Regions from separate parts of the Homo sapiens genome. Here all the other regions are linked to region 1. Evidence: promoter capture Hi-C in 16 types of primary human blood cells and fetal thymus (Javierre and others, 2016). All regions are on one chromosome and are shown on one strand. The core of a region is centred on a gene start or on the middle of the fragment in contact, and the rest is flanking DNA. Distances in the headings are between cores, read along the strand shown. Region 1 holds the start of OLIG3 (oligodendrocyte transcription factor 3). Region 2 has its middle 49 kb from the start of LINC03004. Region 3 has its middle 75 kb from the start of OLIG3.

What was found. Contacts are between HindIII fragments. The CHiCAGO score rates a contact against its expected background, and 5 or more counts as called.
Region 2: a fragment that was not itself captured here is called in contact with the fragment with the promoter of OLIG3 in region 1 in 1 of 17 cell types (non-activated CD4 T cells); the score reaches 5.0 in non-activated CD4 T cells.
Region 3: a contact is called between a fragment that was not itself captured here and the fragment with the promoter of OLIG3 in region 1, in 1 of 17 cell types (non-activated CD4 T cells). The highest score is 5.2, in non-activated CD4 T cells.

The regions. Positions count from the first base shown.
Region 1 is chr6:137,492,615-137,496,526 of GRCh38, reverse strand. It overlaps OLIG3 (oligodendrocyte transcription factor 3), which reads left to right and starts at 2,133. Exons shown (of 1, transcript NM_175747.2): 1 at 2,133-3,912. The coding sequence starts at 2,357. The coding sequence ends at 3,175. RefSeq lists enhancers at 1-508, 509-1,042, 2,724-3,223. The HindIII fragment of the contact is 6,431 bases long and covers 1-3,912 here.
Region 2 is chr6:137,614,291-137,618,202 of GRCh38, reverse strand. No RefSeq gene overlaps it. Among named protein-coding and RNA genes, the nearest start is that of LINC03004, 49 kb to the left of the region's middle. RefSeq lists an enhancer at 2,735-3,912. The HindIII fragment of the contact is 1,481 bases long and covers 1,100-2,580 here.
Region 3 is chr6:137,566,993-137,570,904 of GRCh38, reverse strand. No RefSeq gene overlaps it. Among named protein-coding and RNA genes, the nearest start is that of OLIG3, 75 kb to the right of the region's middle. The HindIII fragment of the contact is 796 bases long and covers 1,787-2,582 here.

The sequences.
Region 1 (3,912 bases), core at 884-3,383:
GATCAGCAGGGGAGTCGCAGAGGGTTGTCGTTAGGACTAGCCACTAGCTTCCTCCCATCACCTGGGACTGCACAAGTTCTGGAGCACTTCCCCCCTCCCCTCCTTTTTTAAATAACCAGGAAGACTTAGTGTATGTCACTATCTTATTGGCGAGTCTGGTGAATTAAGAAACATTCTTTATGCTTGGTATTAGGAATGCTTTTGGACATTAGTCTTTCCACATCCAATCTAACCTCTTGAATTAAGAAACTTTCCTTCCACCGAGATGAAGGTGGTAGAAGAGGCTCCTGTCCAATCTGCAAGAGCACTAACTTCCTGGCCTTGACGAAGGGCTGTTGGCCATTTTTCCCCCATTACAGAAAAACAAAATTCGGTGTAGCAAAAGCATCCATGCCAATGTTGCGTTTGCCCATCCTTCTGGTATTGGCCAGAGCTGCCTTCGCAGCGTGACTGTCAGTGGGGCACAGCCTCAGAGCGTGCAAACTCCGGACCTGGGCGCGCATCCCTCTCCCACTGACCGCTCGGTTTGAGTCAAGGGAAAGGGGGGCATCCTGTTCTTCGAAGTGACTCAGCGGCGCAAGAGGCCCCAAGTGCCCGAGGTTCCGCGATTGATTCGATTTCACACTTCCACCGAGACTCTCAGTCACTAGCTAGCGTTTGTTTCCCGTTCCACCAAGCCGGGAGAGGGGCGGTGTCCGGGTTCTTCTAGAGACCACTCCTGGGGCTCTCTCCCTTCCCGGGATTTCTGCCTTCCCGCCCCTCGTGCTGCTGAGCTAAAGTCTTGATCACAAAAACACAGCAAGGGGGAAGAAAGATCTACGCCCACCTCCGCACTCGCACCGAAGGCTCCAAACTCCGACCTCCTCTTTATTCCCAGAAACGACTCTGCGCTGAACCGCAGTGCCCGGGCACGCACAAGGGGCTTTCTAGGTCCTTTCGTTGTTTCCCTTCCCCCGTGCTTCTTTGCCCACGCACCCCACCCCCCCGCCCCACCACCCCGACATCAGATAGTTTATTATGAGCTTCTGATTTCCCTGTCCGACGCCGTACGGCGGCCCCAGCCTGGTGGACCCACCCGCGCAGGCCGGGGTGCCGCTGAGTTCCCGGAGCTCGGGGCACGTCAGCACAGCGGCCAGAGGAGGCCCGGCGGAGCTTCGGGCGCGGACCGTCCCACCGTTTTGCGCCAGCGCCAAGGTCCAGGAAGCCTGGAGTGGGAACAATCTCTCTGGAGCTCTCAGGAACCTAACAATCTCTCTCTCTGCCTCCTTGGCTCCTTTTCCTTCCCATCCTCCCAAGTTGCTTTTCTTGTGACATTAACATTTTTTTTTCGCAGTTTTTGGTCTAGGAAGTTAAAGAATTGTGCAAAACTGAAATTCTTTTAGAAATCCATGTTTTAAAACGAAAGAGAGGACACAGAAAATAAGAGACCTCTCCGCCACAATACTGCCAGGAGCAAAGCCATCACCGAACATGGACATCCCGTTGAAACCACACCAGAAGGGCCCAATAAACAAAATTGACAGAATGGAAGTGTTTAGGAAAAGAGATCTAATGAAAAAAAAATATTGAGACAGAGAAAGTCGGCATGCAGTCTTCCCACCACCCCCAGCCCCCGCTGGCAGCACCTTCCCTCCGACCGCACCTCTGTCCCTCAAACCTTTCCACTGAGACCTATTTTTGCCCATATTTCTCTAAACTTGGGAGCAGCCAGGAAAGAAAGGAGAGCGAATGTTTCAATTCCTCTCTCCAAACTCAGAGGAACCTCCACCAACCGCCTGGCCACCTTCTCTTGCCTTCCTTCCGTTCCTGATGTGTGATTTGGTTAGAGAAATTGGGAAGGGGGGTGGGGTGGAAGAAAGTTAAAAAAAAAATCAGGAAGGCGTAAGCTGGAGCGGTGAGTGTGTCAATCAGAGGGTTTTGTGCCTGGGGGCTCCTAGCGGTTCGGAGCAGAGGTGTCCCAGGGCGGCCCCACAATGAATATGAATAGGAATCCTTGCTAAATGGGACAGCAAAGCGCACCGCCCTGAATGATGGCACGTCATCCTAACCAGCCCAGGATAGATAGGAGGGCTCCTTTTGTCTCTTTTCTCCGCCGCAGCTCTATAAAAGCCCCTCTTTTTCAGCGTGAGGTTAGTTCAAGCACACACCAACTAGCTGTCCAGGAAGCAGCCTAACCAGAGAGAGGGGCGTGGGAGGGAGAGAGGCGGGGAAAAGCAGCGTCTCCGCTTTTCTTCTCACGTCTTGCCGCGGAGAAGTGGGTTCCTGGGCAGTGCAGATTTTTTTTTTTTAATTCAAGATTTTCTTTAATTTCCCGCCTAAAGCCTCCCCACGGTAGGGCCGCATCCCCTGTAATAAAATGAATTCTGATTCGAGCTCTGTCTCCAGCAGAGCTTCATCTCCGGACATGGATGAGATGTACCTGAGGGACCACCACCACCGCCACCACCACCACCAGGAGAGCCGTCTCAACTCGGTCTCGTCCACGCAGGGCGATATGATGCAGAAGATGCCCGGGGAAAGCCTCTCGCGGGCTGGCGCCAAGGCCGCGGGAGAGAGCAGCAAGTACAAAATCAAGAAGCAGCTGTCGGAGCAGGACCTACAGCAGTTGAGGCTGAAGATCAACGGACGCGAACGCAAGCGGATGCACGACCTGAACCTAGCCATGGACGGGCTGCGCGAAGTCATGCCCTACGCGCATGGGCCGTCGGTGCGCAAGCTCTCCAAGATCGCCACACTCCTGCTCGCCAGAAACTACATCCTCATGCTCACCAGCTCCCTGGAGGAGATGAAGAGGCTGGTTGGCGAGATCTATGGGGGCCACCACTCGGCCTTTCACTGCGGGACCGTGGGCCACTCGGCCGGCCACCCCGCGCACGCGGCCAACTCCGTGCACCCGGTGCACCCCATCTTGGGCGGCGCGCTCTCATCTGGCAACGCCTCGTCACCGCTGTCCGCCGCCTCACTTCCCGCCATCGGCACCATCCGGCCTCCCCACTCGCTACTCAAGGCGCCCTCCACGCCGCCCGCGCTGCAGCTGGGCAGCGGCTTCCAGCACTGGGCTGGTCTGCCCTGCCCCTGCACCATCTGCCAGATGCCGCCGCCGCCGCACCTGTCCGCTCTCTCCACAGCCAACATGGCCCGGCTGTCGGCCGAGTCCAAGGACTTGCTCAAGTGAGCAGCGGGCGGGCCCGGCTGCCAAGGAGGAGGGAGAGCGGCGGGAGGGGCCGCGGTGCCGGGCCGGGAGGGAAGAGGGAGGCTGCACGCTCGGCCCACGGGAGGGCAGGCTCCGGGGCCCGCAGCCTCCCACGCTGTCTGAGAGATCTCAGACTCCACTTGACCCCCGGAGGGAAAGGACCAAAATCAAACCGCAATTTCTAGGTGGTAGCAAAGGGGGACTCGAACCAGATGTCGTGTGTTTTGCATGCATGCTTCTTTTCCCCATGCCGCGCCAGTATTTTTCACTGCCATATGCTCTTGTCAAAACTGCATTTGTTGTATAAAGATGGGATCGGTGTAGTTAAAAACTTGCGAAGGGACTTTTGAGTTGGCTTTCTCTGACTCTGTGTTCTCGCTTTGGAAAAAGACGGCCATCCCTTTTGTGCAAAACAAATGTAAATATTTTCTTGAGATGGATGCGATTATGATTGTCTCTGTCCTTGCCACAGTTTTTCTAGAGACAATGGAGAGAGAAAGAGAGAGAGAGCGCGAGAGAGATCAAGACCCAAGTTTTGAATCTCAACCGAGGTCCAGGGCATGACACCTCCTATGTGGGTTTTCCTTTCGACGCAGTGTAGGTCAAAAGAATGCATGCACGCTTCTAAATGAATCTTGTCTGAATATGTCGTGCAGGCTGTGGTGCCGTTTTCCTTGTAACAAGGATTTATTAGTGAATTATCCCAAGTACTCCATATA
Region 2 (3,912 bases), core at 591-3,090, 120 kb before region 1:
TCAATGTGTGATTTCCCTTAGATTATATAATGTTTATTCTGTCTTAAATGGCCACCATCTAGGCCCTGACCTATCTCTCCAAGTGGAGGCCAGTGAAGAAGGTATTCCTAGAAGTGAGGGGTTGATCCTGCCTATCGCATCTTCCAAGTGTCTCACACTCTACCCAGTGGGACTCCAGGTTGACTCTAAGACACTGATTCCTACCTCATGATATGAAAGTCTAAAGATATAAATGCTACATTAATGATTTCCCCTGAAAAATACTTATATAAGACTTACAGAAAAAGCCTTACAAGACTAAGGAAATACTTATACAAATTTTGAAAATGCCAACCCTGCATTTTAAAAAACTGAACATCTGGGGCACAGTGGCTCATGCCTGCAATCCCAGTACTTTGGGAGGCTGAGGCAGGTCAATCATTTGAAGTCAGGAGTTTGGGACCAGCCTAACATGGTGAAACCCTGTCTCCACCAAAACAAAAACCAGCCAGGTGTGGTGATGTGCACCTGTAGTCCCAGCTACTCAGGAGGCTGAGGCATGAGAATCTCTTGAACCCTGGAGGTGGAAGTTGCAGTGAGTCAAGATCGTGCCACTGCACTCCAGCCTGGGCGACAGAGTGAGACCCTGTCTCAAAAAAATAAACAAATACAACAATAAATAAATAAATAAATGAACATCTGGCAAATACAGAGAGAGAGAGACTTGTAGAGCTGTAAATATAATAAAAATATATAAGGTAACTTTTGAAGTATTCTATTTGCTGTATACAAAAAGGCAGATTATTGGGATTAAATTCAAACTCCTCTGCCTATTTGTTGTCTATGTAACTGTTTTGAGCCTCAGTTCCTTATCCGCAGAATGGGGACACTAATATCTTCCTCAGAGAGTGTAATTTCATTCATAAAGCATCTGGTTCTGTGTTGAATCCACACAAGCACTTGGTATGTGATCATTCATCATTTGCTACTGTCATGAATAGATTCTCCTTTTTGACTTCAGATTTTCAACAGTTCCTGGCGGGGGACAAGGGGGGCATGAGTTTCAGGGCTTAATGTCAAATGCAATTGCTGTACTGCCTGAAAATGGCAGCAGCAAGCTTGTACCTAAGAAGATCAAGTTAATTTATAAACTGCCAGCAGAATTGGGGGTAATCTCTTACTCTGTCATCCAAACTGGGACACTGCTAAACATGCAAGACACTGAAAAATTATGCTGGGAGAACAGGGAGAAGCCAAAACTATTCTAGGCAAACTAGGACACATGATCACTCTACCTCAATTGAATTTTTTTGAGTTTAGATTACTAGCATAACCAGTAAGAGAAGAAAGAGAAGACCAACATTTCTAAAGCACTTAGAAAGTACCCAGCAGTACAATCAATATGCAAATCCATTTCATCTTTGCCACAAATCTGAGAGGTAGTTATCCTATTCCAGTTTAACAGATAAGGAAATGGATGCTCGAAGTAGTAATTTACCAAATGTCATGCGAACAGTAGAGCACAGATTTGAACTGTGGTCTGCCTGACTACAAAATCCCTGCACTTGTTCCTCACTGTATCAGTGATTTCCCAAACAAGTTCTAGCAGAAGTATACTTCCTTTCTAGTAAAATAATTAAAACAGAGAGAACCAAGGAAGCCCAGATGAAAGCTGGAGTATGAGGCCTGAGGCAGTGCCTGTGGGGCACCACCCTGTTCTCTGCAGAAACCCGTGAGACATTCACTAGAGTCCCAGAGCCCTAGGGATCATAGTTCAAAACTCATCTGTAGTTTCCAGCCCAACCTTCAAAAGACCCAGGGGTGAGGAGGGGTAGTCGAGATGGGACTAGTCTTGCTTCCAGCAGCACAAGGACAAACTGGTATCAGGGCATCTGTATTCAGGGCTTAGCAAGGCCTTCAAAATCTATTTCACGTGAGGGCATCTGGGAATGAAAGCAAGAATCCTAATTCTTCCATAGTCCAAAAGAGCATGATATGAGGAGGAGGACTGAATGTATCAAATTTCGTGCACCTGAGAAAAAACAGCAAAAGATTTTAAAGCAAAAGTGTGATGGAGACAGTGAATGTGCTGCCTTCCTAGAGCATGCATGGTTTATGGAGCTGAATGGCGTGCCGACTCACTGATGACAAAAGCACTGCTAGAAACCTCCCTGAAGGTGCTGCAGGCAGAAATTTGCCCAACTAAGCTCACCCAGGAACACCAGATCTCCAGGAATCAGACATTCACATTCAAAGTTCTATGAATAGAATATCAGCGCAAAGAAATCACAATGAGCTTTTAGGTGGCCACAGAGAGATTGGGTGGACAAAGTCCTTCTTTAACCCTACTGGCAATATACTCAATTGGCATGATTTTTGGAAAGCAAAAAGTCATCAATTCTGACAAGTGTCATACTATTTGACCTTTAAAAGTTTTAATAACATGCAATGAAATTATGAAAGTACATTGTGAAAACATGCTGAATGGAAATGTCAGCTTCGAAGTTAATCTCGTAGGCCTTTAAAATGCTTAAGATTTCACTTAATATTGTGTTAATATGAGGTTGACATCTTATATGGAACAAACATCAAGCACAAGCTTACTCAATTGTCTTAGTAACTCCCATCATCCAAATGCTCTGGTTCTAGCCTCTATCTCCTCATGTAAAGAAATAATAAGGGCAATCATGAATACCTTTCTAATCTGAATAGCAGAGAAACAACATTGTCTGATTTAAGGTAAAACAGAAATGGGGGCTATAGGCATCAAGTCTGTCATAAACCTATTGTGGGGCCTTGAGGGAGACAAAAAGAGTTTGGCCTTTGTTTTTGCAACAGGGATAAAACTCACAATATTTATGAGGAACAGCTAGTAAAGGCAGAAAGGGCTATAGTTTTGAGGAAAAAGTAAATGTTCAAACCATAACCTTGTTTGGTCTTAATTTGTGTTAACGGGGCCAAAGCAAGGTGTTTTTGTTTGCTTTGTTATTGTTTTAAATGACCAAGTTGCAAGAATAGTAAATCTACCCCAATTTTATCATGACAAAGTATAGCTACAAAAACAGCCTTCTGAGTTGCATAAAAAAAGAGTGTGTATTCGCTGTTTCAATAGCAAAGACTACCTGTAATTATTTCCTCAGTGGGGCTGCATAAAACTTGTATTCCATTTAATCTTATACTAAACAATTTCTATATTTCATGTCATAGATTAGAATGAAAATGGAGATAGTTCGTCAACACTGATCTGTGATATAAAAAAGAACAGCGAAGCGGAGGGTATGAGAGTGCATAAAAATGTTTTGTGTTCTGACCAGTACATTGCTTTAAAAAAAATTTTACAGTCAGGCCCAATTGTTCATTCTCACCATGCAGAAGATACTCACATATTCATTTTTAAAAGGGCAAATCAACCATAATTCAGTTTATAAACTGTGAAGCTGGTTGCGAATGTCTGGATGAATATTCATTAGAATCTCTTAATCTGCCATCGACTGTGATTCATTAGGCATATGTAAATATCACTCACTTTAATTGCCCCTAAACTGACTTAACATAATATTGTCATTAGCAAATTATTAGTTATTTGTGTAACTAATGGTACATTATGGTGTGCACATTAAATCTCCAAATATATGATTACAATTATGATGGTGTTTTATGCTGGGGGTTTTCTAAACTATTTTATGAAATATAATGGAGTCAAATCAAATCTGGTATGTTAATAGGACAGTTGTGCAACTTTTTTCTGTACCTTGGTGCTGTTATCATATCCCAGCTCCTCACTCTCCCTGACATTTGACTTGCTCTAGGTTCTTCCTATTCTCCTTCCTGAGGTCTTAGGAAATTTCTCATTTCCATTCTTCCCTGTTTTACCTAATGGGTTCAATGTCAGTTTGCTTTTGGTAAAAGTGATTTTACCAAATCACTTTTAGG
Region 3 (3,912 bases), core at 935-3,434, 74 kb before region 1:
CAAATAGAGGCTGCAATTGGTGTTACGATTATTTCCAATGTTCTGTCTCAGAGGACTGTACGCTGGCAGCCACCACATAGAATTGTTTATCATATATGATTTCCCAGACTAAGTTAGTATTTGAGGTGTGTGTGTGCAGTTTTTCTACTCGGTGTATCGTTTTACTTAAGAGCATTTTAAAGAGTCCAATATGTATGTAACAGAAAGCAAACATTTTGTGTCAACACGTTCAAGTGAAGCTGCCTCTGCAAAAGGCATTGCTACGTGTATTTATTTCATTCTGAGCTGACACTAATCGAGTACTATAAACATCAGCACACTGAGAGGTTTCATTTAGTTAGGCTGCTTGCCAAACTTGGGGGGAAAAATATACCAAACATGCCCGTGATCATCGTCTTAACAACTAAGCTTGGAGGTCGTTAACTGCATTTCCCTGACATTGCAGGATGGCTCCTGGCTCCAGGGCCACACCTTAGGACATATTCATTTCTGTTCCCAGAACACATCTCCACTGTCTATTTAAAAAATTTTTCCTTTTTGCACCGATTGTAGCTACCCTGAACATGTGCTAGAATAAACGCCTGAAGCATTCATAGTTTGGGAAGCCTTGCTAGTCAACCTATAAGGAAAGCTCATGCCTGATCTCAGTTTTTTCCTATTCTTATTTTTTTTTAACCCAAAGGAGTTTCCAAAAATGGCTATGTATCGACTCAGTCCATTGCTCAATAGAAATGTCATAGTTACCAAGGAATGCCAAATGAAGCTTTATTTTTCATTTCAATGTTTTACTTGTAGATCGATAAAAATGTAAAGATTTTTGAGCCAAATCAGTGAGTTATTTTCTGTATTTCACTTTCATCTTTCCTTATTGTGTGACCTTTTATTTAGAAACATTGATTGCTTCCTACCATTTGCTTAATGATTTTGACTTCATCTCTTTGGGTATCAGATTGGAGTAATAAAAGGAACAAAAAGTCACACTGCCCTATTTCTAGTGCTATAAACAAAATTGCATGAAAATGAAGGCCAAAATAAGTACTTGAAATGCAAATGCATTTTAGAATGGAAAATAAATTTCAGAAAAGCTGCTGTGTTGTTATCAATGTGTGCTGGCGTTAAATTTTGACTCCATAGGAAAAGGGTAGGAATAGAAGCAGAGAACACCAAACAACTGCTTTATGGCTCAGCTAGCCTCAGTACTCCTGTGCTGTGTGTACGAACTCCCATATACTTTAATTAATTAGCATAGGGTGTGTGGCACACAGATGGGATAAAAGAATTAATTCCTTTATTAAGAACTTGGATAAAGGAATTAAACTTTGATACAGACGAGATAGACAAGATGAAGTACTCATCGTAAGACAGTCCCTGCAAAGTCAATCTTGTTCGTCACATTTCTCATGGGAGGTTTTCTGATAGGATTTTGCAGATAGCTTGATGAGTAAGCACTTGACCTATCACTATGCCCAAGGCTTTGGTGCACATTACCATATACTTTCTATGCTGTCCTGTCCTGGCTCTTCTTTTCTCTGAACTTCTAACATTTATTTAAAAGAAAGCAAGAGAAAGAAGGCACAAAACATATTTCTTTACATATCCCAAATTACCACTCCATGTGTAATGAAAACCACCCATTTAAAATACAAGAACTTTTGTATGTTATATGCTAAGACCTATTAACCTTCCCAGAAGAGTGGAGAACAGGGGAACAGTTACTTTCACCAAATTGTCTATGGGTAGACTCAGGCTTCCATCCTATCGCCAAAGGGTAAAACCCAGTGAAGCTTCCTAAACTGGAAATCTTCTCCTGCCCCTGCAAATCCCTCTCGAGACCTCTCTGTATCCTGAAAGGTAGACTTTACAAACTGCTTCAGCCGGCAGCCTTGCCCTCTGACTTCTGGTTGAGTTGGCCACTGGGGGGTAATGGCAGATCAGAGGGAGGAAAGAAAGTGAAGTTGGGGTATTATGGGCTCCTTGTGACCTTTCTGGAGGGGATCTTTGTAGGTGGCTGATTTCCTAAGGGCACAGCCCCTGTTAGGTAGCCCTCTCCATACCGATCTCTCTCTCTCTCCCCCCTCCTCCCCCTCCCCTCCTTCTCCTCCTCCTTTTCTGGGTTCTGACAACTGTCCGGGTTTTGGCAACCTCTCCTTTGCCTTCTCCATCAAAAGTGAGTATTTAATGGAGCCCCAGATGTTATTATTCATCCTTGGACATTGCAGTATCCCTTGTTGTTTTCTGATACTTTACCCACACTTTTGCTAATTGCCCCTTTGTTAAACTCTCTTCAAACTACCCCATTTTCGTATGCTAACGCTTTCCTGCCAGACCGTGTTTGATAGATCTAATGTATACATTAGTGCAAAGTTGCACACTAATGTACAGGATCCTTGAAAATATCATCAATCAGAAGCAGAAAAATAAAATATCAGAAAATCTCTTTGTAATAAAGAGTCTGACTCCATTTTTGATGTTTGCAAACAACTTTCAATCCCCAGTCTTCCCCCTTCCCCTCTTGCCCCATATCTGGACAAGCTGGTAAGAAAGCCTGGGTGATCTCTCTTTTGGTTCAAATCACACAAGCTTCAGCTGCACCCAAGATCCGTTATGCCAACCCCATCCCCTAACCACAAGAAAAGCCAAGTCATTTGCTTTCACTGCTCTCTCAAGCCATTTGTGGACCTGCTTGGGAGCCTACCCACTCTCCCCAGAAAGCCTCATTCTGTAAGTCATAACCTTTTCATTCCCTCTGGTACATGTGTGGCATCAGCAGTCTTGCCATCCAAACCAAATTTGTGTGTGTGTGTGTGTGTCCACTCTGTCTCTAACCACAACAGTCTCCATCTATTCACTATCAATGAATTCCCATTCAACTTACATAAATACATTCGACACAAATTCAGCAATATACCATTGGCTAATGGAAGAAGCACAAATGTAAACTGTCAGTCCCCTGACATTCCAACCACAATCTGCGCCCTGGGGTGAGCAGGACAGGGAGCTAGGCCTCTCTTCTCCAGGCTGTCTCCCTCCTGAATGCCTCTCAGTGGATGCCTTGGCAGATCATCCAAGAGATTGTTCAAAGAAAACTTTAACAATGGGAGATTTTTCTCATTGTAAATTAACTCTATAATCTGACCACTCCTCTCTCCAGAAGAGCAGAATCTCCACCACTTATGCTCACTGCATTATTTACTAAGTGGTAACTTTTATTGATTAGGATTGTTTCTACTTATAAATCATTAAAAGGCACTCAGGCTGGCTTAAGTCAAAGAAGGAGAGGGCTGGGAGAATAAGGCAGAAACAGAAGGAATCAGGGACTGGTATGCAGCCGAGCCTCCTGAGGTACCCTCCCCTCACCCTTATGTAAATTGTTCAATTTTGCAGCAATCTAACAAAATTGCCAAACCATTTTCTACCTCAGAACCTTCCTAAAGACTGATCCTTTTGCCTGAAACCTTTCACAGGCAGAATATTTGCTTGGCTAACTCCTACTCACCTGCACATCTCAGCTTAGACACCACTTTTCTGGGATACATTTCTCCACTTTGGACTCACTTATGGCTCTCACCAGTGTGTTGTGATCACCTGAAGGATACTTGACTGTGTCCTTTATTGACTCAGTGAAAACCATGGGAAGACAAAGACCATGATTTAGAGATGCCAGATAAGAAGCAGATGCCCAGATCGATTTGCATTTCAAAGAAACAACAAATACCTTTTTAGTATAATTATGTCCTGTGCAATATTTTTATGTGCTAAATCTGACAACCTTTACATGGTTTTCTTTAACACCTAGCACAGAGTCAGCACATAGTGAGCACTCCACAAATATTTGCCAAATAAATGGATGAAGAAAATCTAGGCAATACCATTGGGGACATAGGCATGGGCAAAGATTTCATGACAAAAATG